2 separate regions of the Homo sapiens genome follow, and region 2 is linked to region 1. Evidence: promoter capture Hi-C in human tissues and cell types (Jung and others, 2019). All regions are on one chromosome and are shown on one strand. Each heading gives the region's core, a stretch centred on a gene start or on the middle of the fragment in contact. The rest is flanking DNA. Distances are from core to core; before and after follow the strand shown.

Region 1 (5,392 bases), core at 2,253-4,752:
AAATGAAATAACATACAAACTCCTTGAAGACTAAAATAAAAGGTTAAAAGAGTAAATTTTTTAACATGTATTTCGTCACAGTTTAAAAAATGCAAAACTGGCCCAGGCAAGCATGCACCTTGCCGCCTTCATGAACAACTCCGTAACTGGCTGAGCCGCCCCAGGGCTAGTCAAAACACAGCAGAGAAGAGGTCAGCCGGAAATGTCCCAAGGTGCACTTACTTCCCCCATGCAGTGCCAAGAATGCAGGTCCTAATGCTGGCTCTGCCACAGCTTGTAATCTGACCTCAGGCAAGTCTCTCCTCCCCTCCATGGGACTCAGTTTCCTCATCTGTAAAATGATCTCCTGGGGTAGGAGAGTACAGGGGCTCCGAGCCCAGGCTCTATAGTTAGGCAGCCCTGGGTCTCACTGGCTTCAGCACTTCCTTGCATGTAGTCTTGAGTCATGTACTACTGTGGGGTGTTTATGGACCGGCCACTGCACACCAGCTTGGTGCTAAATATGCAGCTGTGCTAACCTCAGTCCCATTTAATCCTCACAACAGGCTAAGGGGCAGACACCATTGTTTTCTCCACTTTACAGACAAGGGGATGGGCAAAGTGACTGCCCACAGTCACAGAGATGCGAAGAGGCAAAGCTAGGATCCGAGTCCAGTGGTCTGACCCAAAGGCCTTTCACACTCCCTAGGATGTGCAAGACCCTCCTGAAATCTTTGCAGACAGCCAAGTCATCATGTGCCGGCGGCTTGCCTGGTGGCCCCATCCCCTGTGGACCCATCTTACCTCCCCATCCAAAGCAGGACCCACCTTCAGCCCAGTTCACCTTCAGCCCAGTTCCAATGCTGAGAAGCACAATCAGCAGATGAGTCACACCTGGGAGGATACAAAAATCTTCCCCACTGACCCATGCATGCAAAAAAATCCCTCCTGAAGTTGCCCAGAAACCCCACATAGAACTTCACTCCTGTGCAGCAACTCTTCACTGCAACAGGATGGTACTGGTGTCCAGTAGTGCCCAACTACACCACTTAATGTTGTGTGGCTGTGGAGAAGTCACCTTCACTCTCTGAGCCAGTTTCCTCATCTGTGAAATGGGAACAATATTAACTGCCCCAGTGGGGTCTTTGTGAGGATTAAATGGAAGGAGATATATATATACACACACATACACATACTGCTCACTACTGTATGGGGCCTAGGCCACTCCTGGACAGCTCCACGCTGCGAGTGTTGGGATAGTTATCTGTAAAATGGGCTAACGATGTCATAGGGTAGAGGAGGTGGGGAGAGCCAATGAGATGGCATGGTGAGGGGCTCGGAACAGTACCTGGCTCAGTAAATGTCAGAGGCCAGAACCTCAGTAAATGTCGGAGGCCAGAACCCCAAGGGGATGGCACTGAAGGGAGGGCCGGGTCCCTTGCTGATATTACTCACTAAGTTATCTCCCAATTCTTCCCTGGACCAGCCCTGTGCCTCAGGCAGCCAGGATGTGGGGAAGGGAGGGAAGGTGTGGGCAGAAGCCTGGACCAGGAATCAGATGTTGATCCTAACTATGCAGTTCTTCATCCTTTCCCTGTGCAACCTTAGGAAAGTCAGCTATCTTCTCCGGGCGGGTGGCAGTCTTCTCATCTGTAAACAGATGGTTTGAGCAGTCCTATCTGCTCTCAGCATTGTAGAATGCTGTAACTCAGAGACCAGCACTTGGCTTTGCATTGTCTCCAAATGGAATTCTCCACCCACCTTTCCTTGATGTTAGCAATAATTCCCACAAGGAGCACTCACGATATGCCAGGAACTGTGCCTCATCTCCCAACAGCATTGTGAGAAAGGCCCTGTTACTGTCAACTGCCAGATGGGGTGACCAAGGCACACAGGGCTGGCAGGCTGCCCCTCAACATCTCCACCCCCAGGCCAGCCCAGCAGGGCCTGTGCCTCACCAGGTGCAACCGATGGAAATCAGGTCCACTGTGGAAGCTCTGCCTCCCTCACCAGGAAGCAAACCCTTGTTGGCAGAGACCTGGCCCAAACCTTGAATTCTTTGGGCTGGGAGGGATTTCAGGCACCAGCTTGATTCCTCCTCCTGCACACGCACATGCACACGCACACACACACACGAAAAATGGAGGCCTAATGAGGCGAGAGGCTCTCTTGCCTCTCTGTGCTGTCTATGCTGATCTCATTCTCAGAAAAAGGCTGTAAAGTAAATCTCTAGACCCTCAGCTCTCCCCTACACCCCCTCCTCTCTCTCTCTCTCTCTCTCACACACACACACACACACACACACACACACACAACCCGTCAGGGACAAAGGAAAGCGAGTCCCGAGATTCAGCAGCCGCTGCAGCCCCTTCTCCCTCTCAGGGCCTCTTTGTGTGGGGCCAGAGGGGGAGGGGGCTGCCTGAATGAACCTCAGATTTAATGAGGGGAAGAGGAAAGGAGAGGGGGGCTGGGGAAAGGGAAGGGAGAACGGGCCTCCCAGCCGGGGTCTTGCTGGAGCCCCTCCCCTCTGCGGCTGCAGCTACAGAACAGAGGTTGGCCTCCCCACAGGTCCCGAACCCGCGACCGGGCACTCCCCGCGCACACCCGAACCTCCCTCGATTCCTGCTCTCCCAACCCAGAGTTCCGCCCGGTGGTCCGTGACGACCCGCACCCGCCTCACTCGAGGGCAGCTAAGAAAGTCCGGGGCTCCCTCCGCTCCCATCCCAGTCTCCGCGCTGGGGCCCAGATGATCCGGGGCGAGCTGGGGAAGTGCCTGAGAGGCAGCGCGAGCCAGACTGAGGACGGTAAAGGGACCGCAGAGAGACTGAGGGACGGACGGGCGGACGGGCAGACGGACAGAAGACAGCAGACGGACAAAGACAGTCGGACGAACGACGGACACAGACAGGAACCAGACAAATACGAACGGACAGGCGGAGCCCGAGCGACAGGAACAGGCGGACTGGCAGGCGGCCAGAGGGGTAGGGCAGGGCACTCGCCAGGAGGGACGGGGCCCGGGCGACCTACACAGAGAACCAGGGCGTCCGGGACGGGGACAGAGGCCACCCCGAGGACCGCCCCAAGTGGGGCGACGAGGGCCCACAGAGCTGCCCCGACCCCGGGCTCCAGGCTTAGTCTCTCCAGGTCCCAGGAGGGCGCCCGCCGAGGGCACTCCCCTCCTGCCCGCGGAAACCCGAGCCGGGACCGCAGCTGCCCGGCGCCTGCCGGCCAGGACTGAGCAGGGGGACGGGGGCAGCGGGATCCGGGTGCCGAGTGAAGGTCCAGGAGGGCGAGCAGGCGGGGCACCGGCCCAGAAAGACAAGTTTGCAGGAAGGAAAAAGAAGAAACTACTCGGAGCAGAACAGAAGAAAGTGAGGGCCCGCAGCAGGAACGGGCGGCGCGCGCGGGCGGGCGCCGGGGTCGGGACTCACGCAGCTGAGCAGGGAGCAGGCTCCCAGGCAGGCCCCCATGGCGGCGGCTCCCGGCTTCGGGCGCCCGGCGCCGGGCGCGGGGCGCGGACCTCGGGATCCGGGTGCCGGGCCTGGCCCCTCCCCGGCCCCGGCCCCGCCCCGGCCCCGCCCCACCTACCGAAGCCGCTCGACGCTTTCCGGCGGCGCTCGGGGCCTCCCCAGACTCACCTGGGGCAGGTGCGCCAGGAGGGACCCTAGGGAAGGGGCCGGTCGGGGATTCCCGCGGCCACGCGAGCGGCGCAACCTGACCCAATCGTGGCCCGGGCTCGCATCCTGCTCCAAAGTGAGCGTTCGGAAATCGACCTCGGTTTGAGCCCGTGTGACCCCAGGACACTGTCACCCTTGGGAACAGAAGCCAAGAGGTGGTCACCGCTGACTCCTCAGTGCTTGGCGCAGGGCCTCTGCTCAATACGTAGATGCTGAGGTTGAATGCTGAATGACTGGATAAAGAAACTTCGGCAAGTCACTGCACCTCTATGAGCCTCAGTTTCCCGGTCTGTAAAGTGAGGATACATACCTCACAGGGTGGTTACAACACATGGTAGGTGCTTGACAAATGTAAGCCCCCATCGTCACTGTTTTCTTCTTCCTTTTTAAGAGACAGGGTCTTGCTCTGTCACCCAGGCTGGAGTGCAGTGGTGCAAACATAGCTCACTGCAGCCTCGACCTCCTGGGCTCAAGTGATCCTCCTGCTTCAGGCTCCTGAGTAGCTGGGACTACAGGTGCATGCCACCATGCCCACCTACTGCTTCTTCTAAGACCCCAGCCTCTCACTCTAAACCCATCCTCCCTTCTCTCCATCTGTTCTTCAAACTCCACTGACTCCCAACAGCCTGCTGGGAGCTACACACTCCCTACAGCCACCCCTGCTTGGTGGCTTATCACTCCCTAGGGATGCCCAAACTGGTCCCTAGCTAAGGAGGTCAGAAGGTGGGGAGGGGCGGCCACATTCCTGACAGATGGCTTTCCAGGGGTAGGTGTGAGAGACCCAGAAGTAGGGCTCTGTAATTAGTCTCCCTTCACCCTTAGCCCTGTCCTCAGCCACCTCTGGACAAGATAATGTTAGGGAAAGAAGTCTCTGTGCCTCGAAGCTGGCCCCAGGGCCAAAGAGCTGGTTGACTGCATCCTTGGCTGATTCACTGGGCGCCAGGCTTAGCCATTAATTGCACCAGGACTGTTCCACAAACACACCCTATACTTTTCCTCCTCCGCACTTTTGCCCACACAATGCCCTCCTCTTTTTTTTTTTTTTTTTTTTTTTTTTTGAGACAGGGTCTCACTCTGTCACCCAGGCTGGAACACAGTGGCCCAATCATGGCTCACTGCAGCTTCAACCTCCTGGACCCAAGTGATCCTCCCACCTCAGCCTCCCAAGTAGCTGTGACCACCAGTGTGTACTACCACACCCAGCTAATTTTTTAAAAATTTTGTGTAGAGATGAGGTCTCCTTATGTTGTCCAGGCTAGTCTCGAACTCCTGGGCTTAAGCAATCCTCCTGCCTTGGCCTCCCAAAGTGCTGGTATTACAGATGTGAGGCACTGCACCTGGCAGATGCCCTCCTCTTAAAGGTCCTTCTCCTTATCCCTCTTTCTCCCCTTTGAAGCTTGCTCACATGCCATACCTCTCAGTGAAGAGAGCCACCACCCTCACCCCCAACCCACTACCTGGTTCCATTAGGAATGAACATCCTCCTGATTCCCCCAAGCCTCCAAACAATATGGGCCTCCCTTATGGCCTCACAAACAACCCGAGCACATGCCCAACTTTCCCCCGTGGTACCATTTGAGCCCCACAACAGCCCTGAGAAGTCGATTAATTCCCCACCCACTCGTTTACAGATGAGGAAACCGAGAAACAAAGAAGTAGTGACACGCGAAATGTAAATCAAGCGTCGAATAAACGTTGACTGTGATCACTGTGGTTGTTGTTACTATTGCTGAAGG
Region 2 (5,493 bases), core at 688-3,187, 200 kb before region 1:
TTCTCTATTTTGAGTTTCATTGTCTGTAAAAGGGGATGATATAGTACCCATCTGTGGTAGGGAGAATAATAGATGTCTGAGTCCTAATCTCTAGAATCTTTGAATGTTACCTTACGTGGCAAAAAGGACTTTGCAGAAGTGATTAAACTAAACATTTTGAGTTGGGGGTATTATCCTGGATTATTTGGGTGGGCTCCATGAAATCCAATGATCCTTATAAGAGGGAGGCAAGAGGTCAGAGTAGTGATAGGAGATGTGAGGATGGAAGCAAGTGGTCGTGGTGATAAGAGGAAAGGCCCACAAGCCAAGGAGTGCAGGTGACCTGTAGAAGCTGAAGAAGGCAAGGAAATGGATTTTCCTGAGTCTCCAGAAGGAAAGAAACACTGATTTTAGATGTCTGACCTCCAGAACTGTAGAAGAATAACTTTGTGTTGCTTGAAGCCACTAAGTTTGTGGTTAATTTGTTACAGCAGCAATAGGAAGTGACTACATATCCCCATTGGGTTAAATGAGTTAATACATGCAAAACACTTTGAAAGGTGCCTGATGGATACTTAGCATGTATATAACTGTTAGCTACTATTATAATATTTATGGCAAAACTCTTGGCCTAGGCTGGGTGGAGTGGCTGACACCTGTAATCCCAGCACTTTGGGAGGCCAAGGTGAGTGGATCACTTGAGGTCAGGAGTTCGAGACCAGCCTGCCCAACGTTGTGAAAGCCTGTCTCTATTAAAAATACAAAGATTAGCCAGGTGTGGTGGTACACACCTGTAAGACCAGCTATTCAGGAGGCTGAGGTATGAGAATCACTTGAACCTGGGAAGCAGAGGTTGCAGTGAGCCGAGATCATGCCACTGCACTCAAGCCTGGGTGACACAGCAAGACTCTGTCACAAAAATTAAAAAACTCTCAACTTACGTCAGAGATGGCTGGTCACGTCCATAATTCAACTAAGTGGAAAGGCACATCACTTCTGCTAACATCAAGTTGACCTAAATTTGGTCACCTGATCACATGTAGCTGCAATGGAGGCTGGGAAATATAATTTTTGTCTGGGTAGCCATGTCAGGTGGTGTCCAGCTGAGATGTAAGAGTTCTGTGACTAAAGATAGAGGAAGGGGTGGTTATTGAAGAACTAACAGCATCGGAAACAATTCCTACTATGAAAGACGAGTTTATGGCCGGGTGTGGTGGCTTACACCTGTAATGCCCATACCTGTAATCCCAGCACTTTGGGAGGCCAAGGCTGGCAGATCACTTGAGCCTAGAAGTTCAAGACCAGGCTGGGCAACATGGGAAAACGTCATCTCTACAAAAAATACAAAAAATTAGCTGGGCTTGGTGGCAGGTGCCTGTAGTCCCAGCTACTTGGGAGGCTGAAGTGGGAGGATCATCTGAGCCCAGGAGATTGAGGCTGCAGTGAGCTGTGATTGCACCACTGCACTCCAGCCTGGGCATCAAAGCAAGACCCTGTCAAAAAAAAAAAAAAAAAAAAAAAAAGGAAAGGAAAAAGAAAAAGAAAGAAAAGAGATGAACTTAGCAAAGGTAACTTCCCTCCAGAGTTTGGTTAGATACAAATATTTCCAGCTGTTTTTTCTTGTGCCATTAATTTCATGCACTATCTGTTAACTCCCCACTGTGTAAGACGAGACATCACTCTTGCTTTCTCTCCTAATTCCTTTTGCTAAACTGCTACATTTGCATCTAGTTCTATATCCATAATTAAAATGTTCTAGTTTTGTGTATTGTCTATCTCTGAATTTCAAATATTGAAAATCAATAAAGTGTTCTTAAACAATATTATGATTATATAAACATTATTCTCTACAGAGCCAAATAGAATCCTGGGACACATAGAGAAGGAACTATAATCTCACAGTTTAAATACTGCTCAAAGAGAAATGATCCAGGCTTCAAGCTCAAGTCTATTCTCCTCCACTCCCTCAGCTATTCAGAGTCATAAGACATTTTAATTCACTTCATATTTGGACCATGACTTTCTTACACAATTTCTTGTTCTCATGAAGTTTCTAATTGCTTTCCTCTTTTCTCCTTGAGAGAAGAAACATATGCCTTTTAAGTCAAGTCATTAAAATCTTCCAGCTTCTTAATTACATTATTTGTTGAATGAAGCCCATTTTCTTCCTAAAGACGTTCTTCTCCAAACCCTCTGACTTCCTGTTCTAATTTTGATGGATGGCTTTATGGACCTCTGGTATTTCTATTCACTGTGCTACTGGGTTAATTCCACTGTTTTGTGAATCTGTTATGTCTCTCTTTCTTGAATTATGTCCCTTTATCTCAAGTATATTTTCAAATAACATTTTTAAAAGGGGTGCATGGAAGGAAAGCTTTCTGAATCTTGGCATGTCTGAAAATGTCTTTAGGTTGTCCTTTCACTGACTGAGTTGGTGAGCATGAACCAGCAGGCTTAGGGTATGTGGCAGAGGGCAGATACACAAACAGACACTCCAGCCTCCACCCTGGGCCACATAAGGAGGGATTTACTCTAGACATCAACACTCCCTGTAGGCACTCTAGTCCTTAGGAAAAATATCACTCACTTTTTTTTTTCTTTTTTTTTTTGAGACGGAGTCTCATTCTGTCGCCCAGACTGGAGTGTAGTGGTACGATCTTAGCTCACTGCAACCTCCGCCTCCCAGGTTCAAGCAATTCTCCTGCCTCAGCCTCCTGAGTAGCTGCGACTACAGGCACGTGCCACCATGCCCGGCTAATTTTTATGTTTTTAGTAGAGATGGGGTTTCGCCATGTTGGCCAGGCTGGTCTTGAGCTCCTGACCTCAGGTGATCTGCCTGCCTCAGCCTCCCAAAGTGCTGGGATTACAGGTGTGAACCACTGTGACTGTCCAAGATGACTTAATTTTTTTAGAAAGCTGTTCCCTCTCTTTAAAAATCTCTCCCCTCCCTGTATGTTCCAGATGTCTGCATTTGTTAGGGGGTGGGGTGTTGATGGCAAATACTGGCTTGTTACTCACTAGGCTTTTACTTGAGTATTTTCTAAACTTTTGTTATTCTTATACCACATCTCAATTTTTGTGGCATCTTCTTGCTACTTTATTGTTATGTACTTATGTATGGTATGATGGTTAATATTAGGTGTCAACTTGATTGGATAAAGGGATGCCTAGATGGCTGGTGTTGTTTCTGGGTGTGTTTGTGAGGGTGTGGGCAGAGGAGATTGACATTTGAATTGGTGGACTGAGAGAGGAAGACCCACCCTCAATGTGGGTGGATGCCATCCTGTCGGCCGCCAGCAGCTGGAACAAGGCAGGTGGAATGAAGATGGGATAACTTTGTTTGCTGATGTTGAGCAACTTTTCATATGCCTGTTTGCCATTTGTATGTCTTCTTTTGAGAAATGTCTGTTCAGGTCTTTTGCCCATTTTAATCAGATTATTAGATTTATAGAGTTGCTTAAGCTCCTTATATATTCCTTTTTTTTTTTTTTTTTTTTTTTGTAGAGATGGAGTATTGCTGTGTCGCCCAGGCTGAGTGCAGTGGCTGATCTCAGCTCTCTGCAACCTCTGCCTCCTGGGTTCCAGCAATTCTCCTGCCTCAGCCACCCGAGTGGCTGGGACTACAGGCGCACGCTGCCATGCTCGGCTAATTTCTTTTGTATTTTAGTAGAGGTGGGGTTTCACCGTGTTGCCCAAGCTGGTCTTGAACTCCTGAGCTCAGGCAATCCTCTCGCCTTGGCCTCCTAAAGTGCTAGGATTACAGGCGTGAGCCACCGCGCCAGGCCGAGCTCCTTATATATTCTTGTCATTAATCCCTTGTTGGATGGATAGTTTGCAGGTATTTTCTCCTGTTCTGTGGGTTGTATCTTCACTTTGTTGATTGTTTCCTTTGCTGTGCAGAATTGTTTTAACTTGATGTATTCCTATTTGCCCATTTTTGCTTTGGTTGCCAGTGCTTGTGGGATATAATTCAAGAAATATTTTCCTATGTCTAATGTCCTGGGGAATTTTCTTGCAGCAGTTTCATGGTTTGAGGTCTTAAAGTTTTTAACTCATTTGATTGGATTTTTGTATATGGTGAGAGATAGGGGTCTAGTTTCATTCTTCGGTATATGGATATCCAGTTTTCAAGGGGGTCTCCTTTAAATAGTCCTTTTTCTCCTCACCCAGATTCTGACATGCTGGGAAAGAAAGCAAAATACGGGTTATGGAAGAACAATAGCCCTTTTATTGTTGATGATATAAAGTGGGGGCCTTAGTGGAGGACAAGAGCTAGAGTCTTCCCAGCTGAACCCCGTCACAGCCTCACTACCTACTAACAAGCATGACTTGATCCCACGCCCCATGTCATGGGCTCACAGCCTCGGTCATGCCTCTCCTGACCACTCTTGGAGTCCTGGTATGTCTGGCCTCATTGACAGAGTGGACTGAGTTTTTGCAGGAGCTGAAGAGACTACTGGAAGAGAGAATTTTTCTTACGGACCAAGGAGCAGGAAGCTGAGAGCTTGGCCCAGAAAACCTTGGTTATCAGAAGGGTGCAGTGGCTCACACCTGTAACCCCAGGACTTTGGGAGGCTGAGATGAGGGGATCACCTGAGGTCAGAAATTTGAGACCAGCCTGACCAACATGGTGAAACCCCATGTCCACTAAAAATACAACATTAGCTGGAGGTGGTGGTGGCGTGCATCTGTAATCCCAGCTACTAGGGAGGCTGAGGCAGGAGAATTGCTTGAACCCAGGAGATGGAGGTTACAGTGAGCTGAGATCATGCCATTGCATTCCAGCCTGGGTGACAGAGCAAGCTTCTGTCTTAAAAAAAAAAAAAGGAATAAATGGTATAAACCACTGGAGAGGAAGAAATAAAATGGTCATCTATATTTATAGATCATGTGATCGTCTACATAGAAAATCTAAGAGATTCTACAGACAAACTATTAAAACTGTTGAGAAGGTTCATGTTGAGAAAGAATTTTCCATGGGTCTGGTTCGTTTCTGGATGCCCTGCACACAGAGGCACTAACTGCCCTTTTGTTCTGGACTGTCTTCAAGGATGTTGGTATATCAACCATCTTTGGAACATATAGTTAGTGTGTCCTTCTTGAACAGGAGACTGATTACTGTCCGGCCTAATAATGTCTCCCTTTGTGATGTCAACCTAAAAAACAGAGAAAGAGGCTCTCTAAAAGAAAATGATATCTATTCGGGAATAGGCATTGCAATGGGAATATGTGTGCCATAGTATACTATATGCATATTCATGGAGATAAAGGCAAAAGATTTTGAGGGAAAAATGAGGAGGATTCCATCATTGTTCAAGATAATTATCCTTGGCTACAAGGATCAACAATAAGGACGGCACTAGTCTGAGGTTGGACAGGCAATTTCTGAGCAGATAGCCTTGCAGTATTTTGTGTGTAAGATTGTGATGGTTGTTGCAGTCTTTTGGGATAGTATTTGTTGTTGTTGTCGTTTTTTAGACAGGGTATCCCTCTGTTGCCCAGGCTGGAGTGCAG

Evidence for each region. Contacts are between HindIII fragments. The study calls those that stand out against the background at their distance.
Region 2: a contact is called between a fragment that was not itself captured here and the fragment with the promoter of SERINC2 in region 1, in 1 of the 25 tissues and cell types used here (IMR-90 fibroblasts).

Annotation. Positions count from the first base shown.
Region 1 is chr1:31,411,323-31,416,714 of GRCh38, reverse strand. It overlaps SERINC2 (serine incorporator 2), which reads right to left and starts at 3,502. Exons shown (of 10, transcript NM_178865.5): 1 at 3,411-3,502. The coding sequence starts at 3,449. RefSeq lists enhancers at 1,435-1,983, 3,254-3,754 and silencers at 3,478-3,537, 3,618-3,687. The HindIII fragment of the contact is 9,558 bases long and covers 1,212-5,392 here.
Region 2 is chr1:31,606,384-31,611,876 of GRCh38, reverse strand. No RefSeq gene overlaps it. Among named protein-coding and RNA genes, the nearest start is that of HCRTR1, 8.6 kb to the left of the region's middle. RefSeq lists an enhancer at 5,419-5,493. The HindIII fragment of the contact is 7,167 bases long and covers 1-5,493 here.